Linked DNA regions of Homo sapiens: all the other regions are linked to region 1. Evidence: promoter capture Hi-C in 16 types of primary human blood cells and fetal thymus (Javierre and others, 2016). All regions are on one chromosome and are shown on one strand. The core of a region is centred on a gene start or on the middle of the fragment in contact, and the rest is flanking DNA. Distances in the headings are between cores, read along the strand shown.

Region 1 (2,801 bases), core at 156-2,655:
GGGGGTATTCCCATAGTTCCCTGGTGTTATCTTCTTTTTTTGAAGGCCCTTTTCCATTTTACTGCCATGGCCTTTAGCATGGTCATCTATTATTAAATAATCTTGTTGGGGGTGACCCCTTCTGAAGTCATCATCATCCATAGTCCCCCGGTCTTTAGTGCGCTTCACGAAATAAGGTTTTGCTGTATCTCCCATGGTCTTTGACTTCAATTTTCTTACTTTGCACCTGAAAGAAGGTATTTTGGGGAAATATCAAACTATATAACAAGATATCATACAAGTATACAAAATAACAATTTATCGTACAGATGCCCCAAAGCCTGTAAGAAAGAAACTCCCTATTTTTTTAAAATAAAAATTCTATCACATTCTTAATAATCAGTGCTTTACCCTAGAGGTTGGGAGGCTTGGTCCTCTAATATTCTTCATGAAAATTAATACTTACTATTTAGCATGAAGATTAAATGTGTGAATAAGAGAAGCTCTATAGGTTCCAGAACTGTAGCATAGTAGAATATTACTCATATCAAGTATGGTCGGCTTTTCCCTCTGTAACAAGGCGTTTCTCTTCAAAGAAAACCTCATCCCAAGCCAATATTATTACTAAACTACCGAAACAGTCTTTTGTTTTTTAAGTTGGCAATTACTTGTAAGTGTTATACACCGAAACTTTACGTGAAAGGAGTACTACATTTCTCAACTCCAATTTTCCGTCCCTTCACCACCCCTATTCTGGACAGACCGGCTTTGAGCGCTTAGGTTACGGAGGGGCTGGGCTTCCGACCAAGGTGCAGCTGTAATTAAAGAGGCTGGGTTTCCGATCAAGGGACAACTCCATCTAACCTCCTCAATCCCCGTTCTCCAACCCCAAACAAGTTTGGTTTTGTCAGGAACAGCAATTCCCTGAGGAATGACACTCCTCTTCAATCCCCATCTGACCGCTCCACCACCGATCTGCCTTAGTTTCCACCCTTTTGAGCCCGACGTGGAGAAAGAGGAGGCGTCCCTGCACTCCTGGCCAAGAAGCCACCGTGGGGACCAGGAAGCAGGAAGTGACCTGCTGTCTCCATGGGGTTCCAGGGTTCCCCCGGCCGGCCAGGGGGCCAGAGCCGAATGTCTTGACCCAAATCCCGTCTTCTGCGCCCGCAGTCTGACAAAAAGTGAAAACACGGACTCGAACCCGAGGGCTCAGCCTCTGCCGGCCTGGGGGTTCCTCGGTCACCCAAACTGGTGCGAGGAGGCCGGCGGGGGATGGAACCAACGTACCTCCGGGGCCAGGCCGGACAGCTACTCTGGAGTCCAGGAAACCAACTGGAGAATCAGCCCGGAGGCGAGTCTGGCAGGGACGTTGGGAGAAGGCGCCCAAGAGCACTCACCACCTTCGCCGCGGTCCCCAGCCTCTTCCTGTCCCGGCCGGGCTCCCTCTCCGTGTTTTCCTTCGGCCCCACTTCCGGCGCTCAGCGCTGTCTCATTGTGCGCGATTGGGAGCCGACTGTGCCCCCGCCCTAGCGCTCCGCCGCGCACACCGGAAACGAGCGACGCGCCCCGCCCCGCGGTGCCCCGCCCACGCTCCGACCCCGCCTCCCGCGCCTTTGCCAGCCTGGCCTCTCCTGTCCGGCGCCCCAGCGCACTCGCTCCAGGTGTCGGGCGCCGGGTCTGGCCACCGGGCGCAACCGTCGGAGCGGGCTAATTACTGGCTCGCCGGATAGCCGGTTCGCCGGCGCTTGGGGGCCAGGCCCGAACTTCTTACCAGAGCGGCGCCCGCCCCTTTTCTCTCCCGGCTTCGACGCTCCTCTGGTTCCCCTCTCTGCTCGGGAGGCTAAGTGCTCGGGAGAGGCGCGGGAGCCAAGACTTATGCACCCGGAGAGGGACGCGGAGCCAGCGGTCGGGCAAAGCCGCATTCCCCGCGCTTGGGGCCTCGGCTTTGCCCCTGGGTGCTCCCCGGTTACTTCCAGGGGGAGTAAAGGCTCCGAGGCCTCGTAGCGCTCTTGGTGTTTTTCTGATAATTCGTAGTGATTAATGTTTTCGTGAATTCTTAATTGCCGACCTTGTAGAAATGCCAGCATTTAAACATCCACTGCTCACCCAGATCTCAAAGTGGTCAAGGAAAATGCTCTGCTTTTTTCTTAGGTTGTGTAAGGATTACTTTTACTTGGAAAAAAAAAAAATCAGTTCATTTCGAAGAATATGTGTAATGGCAAGGGATGACCAGAGAGCGTTACATTCGAATTTTTGAGTTGAAGAGTGCACACCTCGAACTCGGGGTTGCTTTTTCTTTCTTTACTGTATGACCTTCCTTGCTGTTTACAGTGTTCTAAATGCTTTGAAAAACATCAAGCAACTAGTGAAATTAGGGAGCGTTGGGAAAATCGACAGTTTTCATTTCTCTGCTTTTTTAAAGCATGTAAATTGAAAGCTGTCAGGTCCTGTGGAGCAATGGTCTTAAAATAATAACACACAAAGTTCTGGCTATGCCAATAACTGTTTTGAAGGCTTTACAAATATTAACTCCTTTGTTTTATATTTTTGTAGAGACAGGGGTCTCCTATGTTGCCCAGGCTGCTCTCCAATTCCTGACCTCAAGCCATCCGCCCAACTTGGCCTCCCAAAGTGTTGGGATTACAGGGGTGGTCCACCATACCCAGCCTTAACTTCTTTAATCCTCACAGCTTCATGAAGACTATATCATTATCCCACTTTTAAAGATGAGGACATTTAGCACTTGCAGTGAAGTAAATGGCACTGCTGCAATCCAGACCCTGAATATGAGGCTGTTATTAACCATGTGGCTATACTAAAAG
Region 2 (2,801 bases), core at 1-2,500, 2.4 Mb before region 1:
TCATTTAAAAAGTATGAAATTAATGTTTGACTTCACAAAGGAGAGAACTTACCATATCCGGAGCCACCCTAAAAACAGAAAGAAAAAAATAGAAAATTACTTTGCCGTTGTAATTACTACCGGTACTTTAAAAAAATTCATTTAATAAAATGGAGTCTTGCTATGTTGCCCAGGCTGGTCTCAAACTCTCGGGCTCAAGTGATCCTCCTGCCTCAGACTCTTTTGTAGTTGGGATTATGAGTGAGCACCACTGCACCCAGCTTCACTATTCAAGTATTTTAATCTCATAAAATCCCTCTTCAGGAAACCAAAGTCCTCCTGTATCCTATTTTCAGTAAGTATCCTCAGGGGAATAAAAAACTTACTGGAGAGCAGGTAAGCATCTTAAATTATCACTGATATACACACGAACAACTATGATACTCAACCTGTGGTTCATAAGCCATCTGCCATTCTGATGGGCTCCATGTATCTATTGCAGAGTCCCAAGTTTCATCAGCACTGAAACCAACCTGTTAGAGATAAAAACATTAACATGAACCCGCATTGTATTTTGTTATAGAGCTGTTTTTAATATGCCTAATTTGCATGTTACATTAAAACAAAAGAGGGTACATATATAGGCAGCAATTTTGTAATCGAGGGGAACAAAGCTCAATAAAGTCGTAATCCTCCAGCAGCAAATAACAGAATTATTTAACTAGTAATCCAAACAAAATTTACTTGTAAGAAAAACTTTTTAATCACTATAACCTTCAACAAAACGTGAACTACATTGTGACAACCCTCACATACCCAACACACTGGTAATAAACCAAAGTTCTTACCATGCCGTCGTAACGGTCTCCAGGTCTCCCTCTTCTGTCATAGGCCATGAGGTCTCTGCAAGCATAGTACTTGTTGTAATCTAAACGTGCTTACATGCCACACATATCAAATCAAAGTCTACCTTGTCTACCACTAAGTGCAGCCTCTTGCAGGTTAATAATTCATAGATGGGGGAAGAAAAAACAACAACAACAAAAAAAACAACTTACCCCCCTCTAGGTGGTGGTGGTGGAGGAAGAGGAAGATTCCGAGCTCTGCTACCACCCCGGCCGCCTCGTCCGGGAGGAGGGGGAGGTGGTCCTCGACGAGGGCTCATATCATCATAATCTCTTCTAGATGGAGGCATGGGACGCCCACCCCGACCAGGAGGCATTCTGTCAAAACCACCTCTTCCCCGCATGGGAAATCCCACTGGGCGTCCGCGACGGTCATCAAACATCATTGTAAAACCACCATAATCATAGGTTTCATCGTAAAAATTGGGATCATAAGGCTGTGCACGTCCTTTGATGGGAGACTAAAAACAGAGATGGAACAAACTTACAGACTGAAGAAAAAGAGTCCTGCTTCATACCAATCCTTCTAACATCATCATCAAACAAAATGTAAGTCATTCCCCCATCAGGAGGTACTAGAGACAGAAACAGGAATTATGTCAACGCTAAAAGTAGCAAAGTAAAGATTCCAAAGAAATCCAATACTTTTGGCAAATGCTAAACAAAAGTGAGTTCTATTGCCTATACAGGGAGAAGTAATAGCTTGCTCTTACACTTAGATCGTAAGAAACCACAAAGCCCTCCCATTTTACACATGACAAACTACAATGCACATTTCACAACAAGGGCTGAAGAGATCAGTCTTGGCAAGCCTGTAATCCATACTGAGGCACCTGAGATAGGAAGCCCTGCAGCATAGTTACAAAGACACAAGCAACACTATAGGAAATTCATTCAAAGGCTCAAAGGCTATAGAAATACCACCAACAAATTACCACTCTCCACTTTTTCAAAACCATTTTTAAATTAAAGTGATGGCTGAAGCCAGGTGATAGAAAATTGCTAGGGAAAGGGCAAATAAAGACTATTAGACTAAATGCTCTGAAGCTACTTTTGCAGAAGGTTATCACTTTGTTTCATAAAATCAAATGTAAACAAAAAGTGTTCTGAAGTACCTCAGATATAAGATCAAGGATGATCTTTATGCACTCTACAACCCTATCGGGTTTTCCTCCAATAAGAACAACTCTGTCAGTGGAATGAGGACAGCATTCCTGGAAAAGCTTGATGGTGGTTTGAGTGTTCTGTAGTAAGATCATAAAAAAAAATAATAATAATTAGAAGAAAATTAGCTTTCCTAGGTTCAGTGAAAATTGCATTTGAATTCAACAATTAACCCCCCACAATATAAAAACTTCATTAATTATCACAGGGCTTTGCAATGGTATAAAAATTTTGACAAAATAACATGTCTAGCAGTGCCAGACATTTTTTGTCATTTGCGATAAGCAATCTTTGGAGGGAACTGAGAGGGGAAGCGAGAGAAGCTCACAGAAACAAGTCTATATGAAAATTTACTTTCCAGCAAAGAATACGGCAGAATTTTTTTTTTTTTACCTCTCGAAGTTCTTTGATTTTAGCACCTTTGACCCCAATAATTCCTCCTGCTAGACTCTGATGAATCAACAGCCTCAACTCGCAGTCAAAGTCACTTCCTTTATAGTGTTGGTACTGTGGAGGGAGAATTATAAAATTTTAGTCTCAAATCAACAATTCCCCAATACACACTTATCTGCTATAAGCATAACAATAATATACTGTTGCAGTGAGCAACCTGAATTTATATTTCAATAACTTTACCAGTTATGTGCTTATTATCCTCAATAGCCAGGCCCAAAAAGGACATTCTGCACCACCTTAAAAAACTATTTTATTTTCAGGTCCTGCAACACCATACCCACACTGCAGCCATTTAGC
Region 3 (2,801 bases), core at 218-2,717, 2.0 Mb after region 1:
TCTGAAGCTTTTCTTGCTTTCTGACACAAGATGTCTAAGGTTCACTTTGTGCTTTTCCTGCCAAATACCTATCAACCGAGTCTTTCAGCTTGCTTTATTGAGGATTAGAATTTAGATACAGAAATCTGGGTGTTATATGTTCTTACTGTTAGAATGCCCATGCTTTTATTGGACAGCCATGGGAAGCATACAGATTTTGATTTTTATATTGGTATTTCCAGTTCGAATTTAACATCACAGAGTTTTTACTATGAGCTTATCCTTTTTTCTCTAACGTTGAAAATTTACATTCTTAGCAACATTAATATAATTGCATTATCTTACAGTATAAATGTAGTTTGAAAATAACACTAATAAGCAACTGTAGCTTTATGTTTGGTTATGGTTTTTTCCTTAAAATATATCCACATAAGCATGTACAGTTGACATTCTAATTTGGAAGGCCATTTGAAAAGATTTTCTCTGATTATGTTATATGTTTGATAATTAATTTGGGTTGTTTGCCTGAAATTCTTCCTTTAAGAATTGCTTTAGTTTTTTATTTAATGTATTTTTTTTTTTTTTTTTTTGAGACAGAGTCTCGCTCTGTCGCCCAGGCTGGAGTCCAGTGGTGCGATCTCGGCTCACTGCAAGCTCCGCCTCCCGGGTTCACGCCATTCTCCTGCCTCAGCCTCCTGAGTAGCTGGGACTACAGGTGCCCGCCACCACGCCCGGCTAATTTTTGTATTTTTAGTAGAGACGGGGTTTCACTATGTTAGCCAAGATGGTCTCGATCTCCTGACCTCGTGATCTGTCCGCCTCGGCCTGCCAAAGTGCTGGGATTACAGGCGTGAGCCACCGCGCCTGGCCTATTTAATGTATTTTTTAACATGTAGAACATTTATGTGAACATTTATGTAGTTAAAAAATCTGATCTGTGTTAAAAAGTTATGTTCACAGCTTCACTTTAATTCTGTTCCTCCACGAATTTCTCTCTTGCCCCAGTTGTTTTTGCTTTGTTTTTCTGATATTTCATTTTTGCAAATGTAAGCATATGTGTATATTTTTGTTTCCCTTTCCTACACAATAGGCAGCGTTCTATGCACACTGCTCTGCCGTTCTATGCACACTGCTCCCTTTTACTTAATTTATTCTGGAGAGCGCTTCATTGAAGTGCGTGCTTGCAACTCATCTCCTAATGATGAACATTTGGGTTGTTTATATTCTCTTGGCTGTTATAAATATTGCGGCAATGAATAACCTTGTGGGTATATTGTTTTTTATTTGTGCAGATACAGCTTTAAGATAGATGTGGGGTGAAAGGTAAACACATTTGTAGTTTTGTTAGTGTCAAAATGTTACATTTTCTTTTTAAAACTTTTTAATTTTTTGTAGAGATGAGGTCTCACAGTGTTGCCCAGGATGATCTTGAACTCCTGACCCCAAGCAGTTCTTTTACCTGGGCTTCCCAAAAAACTTGGGATTACAGGCGTCAGGCATCAATACAGCCTAAAAAAATTACATTTTCAGGCTCAGTGTGATGGCTCACACCTGTAATCCCAGCACTTTGGGAGGCTGAGGTGGGCCGATCATGAGGTCAGGAGTTCAAGAACAGCCTGACCAACGTGGTGAAACCCCATCTCTGCTAAAAATACAAAAATTAGCCTGGCGTGGTGGCGCGTGCCTGTAATCCCAGCTACTCGGGAGGCTGAGGCAAGAGAATCACTTGAACCTGGGAGGCAGAGACTGCAGTGAGCTGAGATTGCGCCACTGCACTCCAGCCTGGGTGACAGAGGGAGACTCCGTCTCAAAAACAACAGCAACAACAACAAAAAAACCCGTCTCTACTAAGAATACAAAAATTGGCCAGGCATGGTGGCCTGCGCCTGTAATCCCAGCTACTCCTCATGAGAGTCACTTGAACTTGGGAGGTGGAGGTTGCAGTGAGCTGAGATCGCGCCATTGCACTTCAGCCTGGGTGACAGAGTGAGACTCCATCTCAAAAAAAAAAAAATTACATTTTTAAAAGGCAGATCTGACCATGTCAGCTTTTTACTTAAAACTCTAAATGGTGGCCAGGTGGGTGCGGTGGCTCACACCTGTACTGTACTCCCAGCACTTTGGGAGGCTGAGGTGGGCGGATTACCTGAAGCTGGGAGTTTGAGGCCAGCCTGGCCAACATGGTGAAACCCCGTCTCTACTAAAAATACAAAAATTAGCCAGGTGTGGTGGCGCATGCCTGTAATCCCAGCTACTCAGGAGGCTGAGGCAGGAGAATTGCTTGAACCTGGGAGGCGGAGGCTGCAGTGAGCTGAGATCACACCCCTGCACTCCAGACTGGGCAACAGAGTGAGACTCCGTCTCAGAAAACAAAACAGAAAAACTCTAAATGGCTTTCCAGTGCCTTAAGGACAAAAGTTTATAATGTAGCCTCAAGGGTACACATATAGTTGGTGTACATATAGCTTTACATCCCTTAACAATGGGATACATTCAGAGAACCTCGTTGTGTACCTCATAGAGTATACTTACACAAACCTATATGGGACAACCTACTAGGCACCTAGGCTATGTAATATGGCTTAATGCTCCTAGGCTACAAACCTGTACAGCATATGACTGAACTGAATACTGTAGACTATTGGAACACAGTGCTGTGTAGGTATTTATTTATCTAAACATATCTAAGGACAGAGAAAGTACAGTAGAAATGTGGTATAAAAGAGAAATGGCATGCCTGTGTAGGGCACTGAACCATGAATGGAGCTGTCAGGACTGGAAGTTGCTCTGGGTTGAGTCTGTGAGTGAGTGGTGAGTGAATG

What was found. The method cuts DNA at HindIII sites, captures the fragments that hold promoters and counts their contacts. A CHiCAGO score of 5 or more calls a contact.
Region 2: the fragment with the promoter of HNRNPK-AS1 here is called in contact with the fragment with the promoter of TUT7 in region 1 in 2 of 17 cell types (neutrophils and activated CD4 T cells); the score reaches 7.2 in neutrophils.
Region 3: a contact is called between a fragment that was not itself captured here and the fragment with the promoter of TUT7 in region 1, in 1 of 17 cell types (total B cells). The highest score is 5.9, in total B cells.

What each region holds. Positions count from the first base shown.
Region 1 is chr9:86,353,005-86,355,805 of GRCh38, forward strand. It overlaps TUT7 (terminal uridylyl transferase 7), which reads right to left and starts at 1,406. Exons shown (of 27, transcript NM_024617.4): 1 at 1,267-1,406; 2 at 1-226. The coding sequence starts at 195. RefSeq lists an enhancer at 1,255-1,464 and a silencer at 1,485-1,664. The HindIII fragment of the contact is 6,298 bases long and covers 1-2,801 here.
Region 2 is chr9:83,970,845-83,973,645 of GRCh38, forward strand. HNRNPK-AS1 (HNRNPK antisense RNA 1) reads left to right here and starts at 1,251. Exons shown (of 2, transcript NR_186535.1): 1 at 1,251-1,433. It overlaps HNRNPK (heterogeneous nuclear ribonucleoprotein K), which reads right to left. Exons shown (of 17, transcript NM_031263.4): 9 at 2,442-2,555; 10 at 2,000-2,128; 11 at 1,038-1,345; 12 at 828-882; 13 at 429-512; 14 at 53-68. The HindIII fragment of the contact is 2,844 bases long and covers 1-2,105 here.
Region 3 is chr9:88,394,259-88,397,059 of GRCh38, forward strand. The region is part of intron 1 of SPIN1 (spindlin 1); the gene reads left to right. Among named protein-coding and RNA genes, the nearest start is that of SPIN1, 7.2 kb to the left of the region's middle. RefSeq lists enhancers at 1,139-1,639, 1,640-2,140 and a silencer at 1,784-2,008. The HindIII fragment of the contact is 2,924 bases long and covers 6-2,801 here.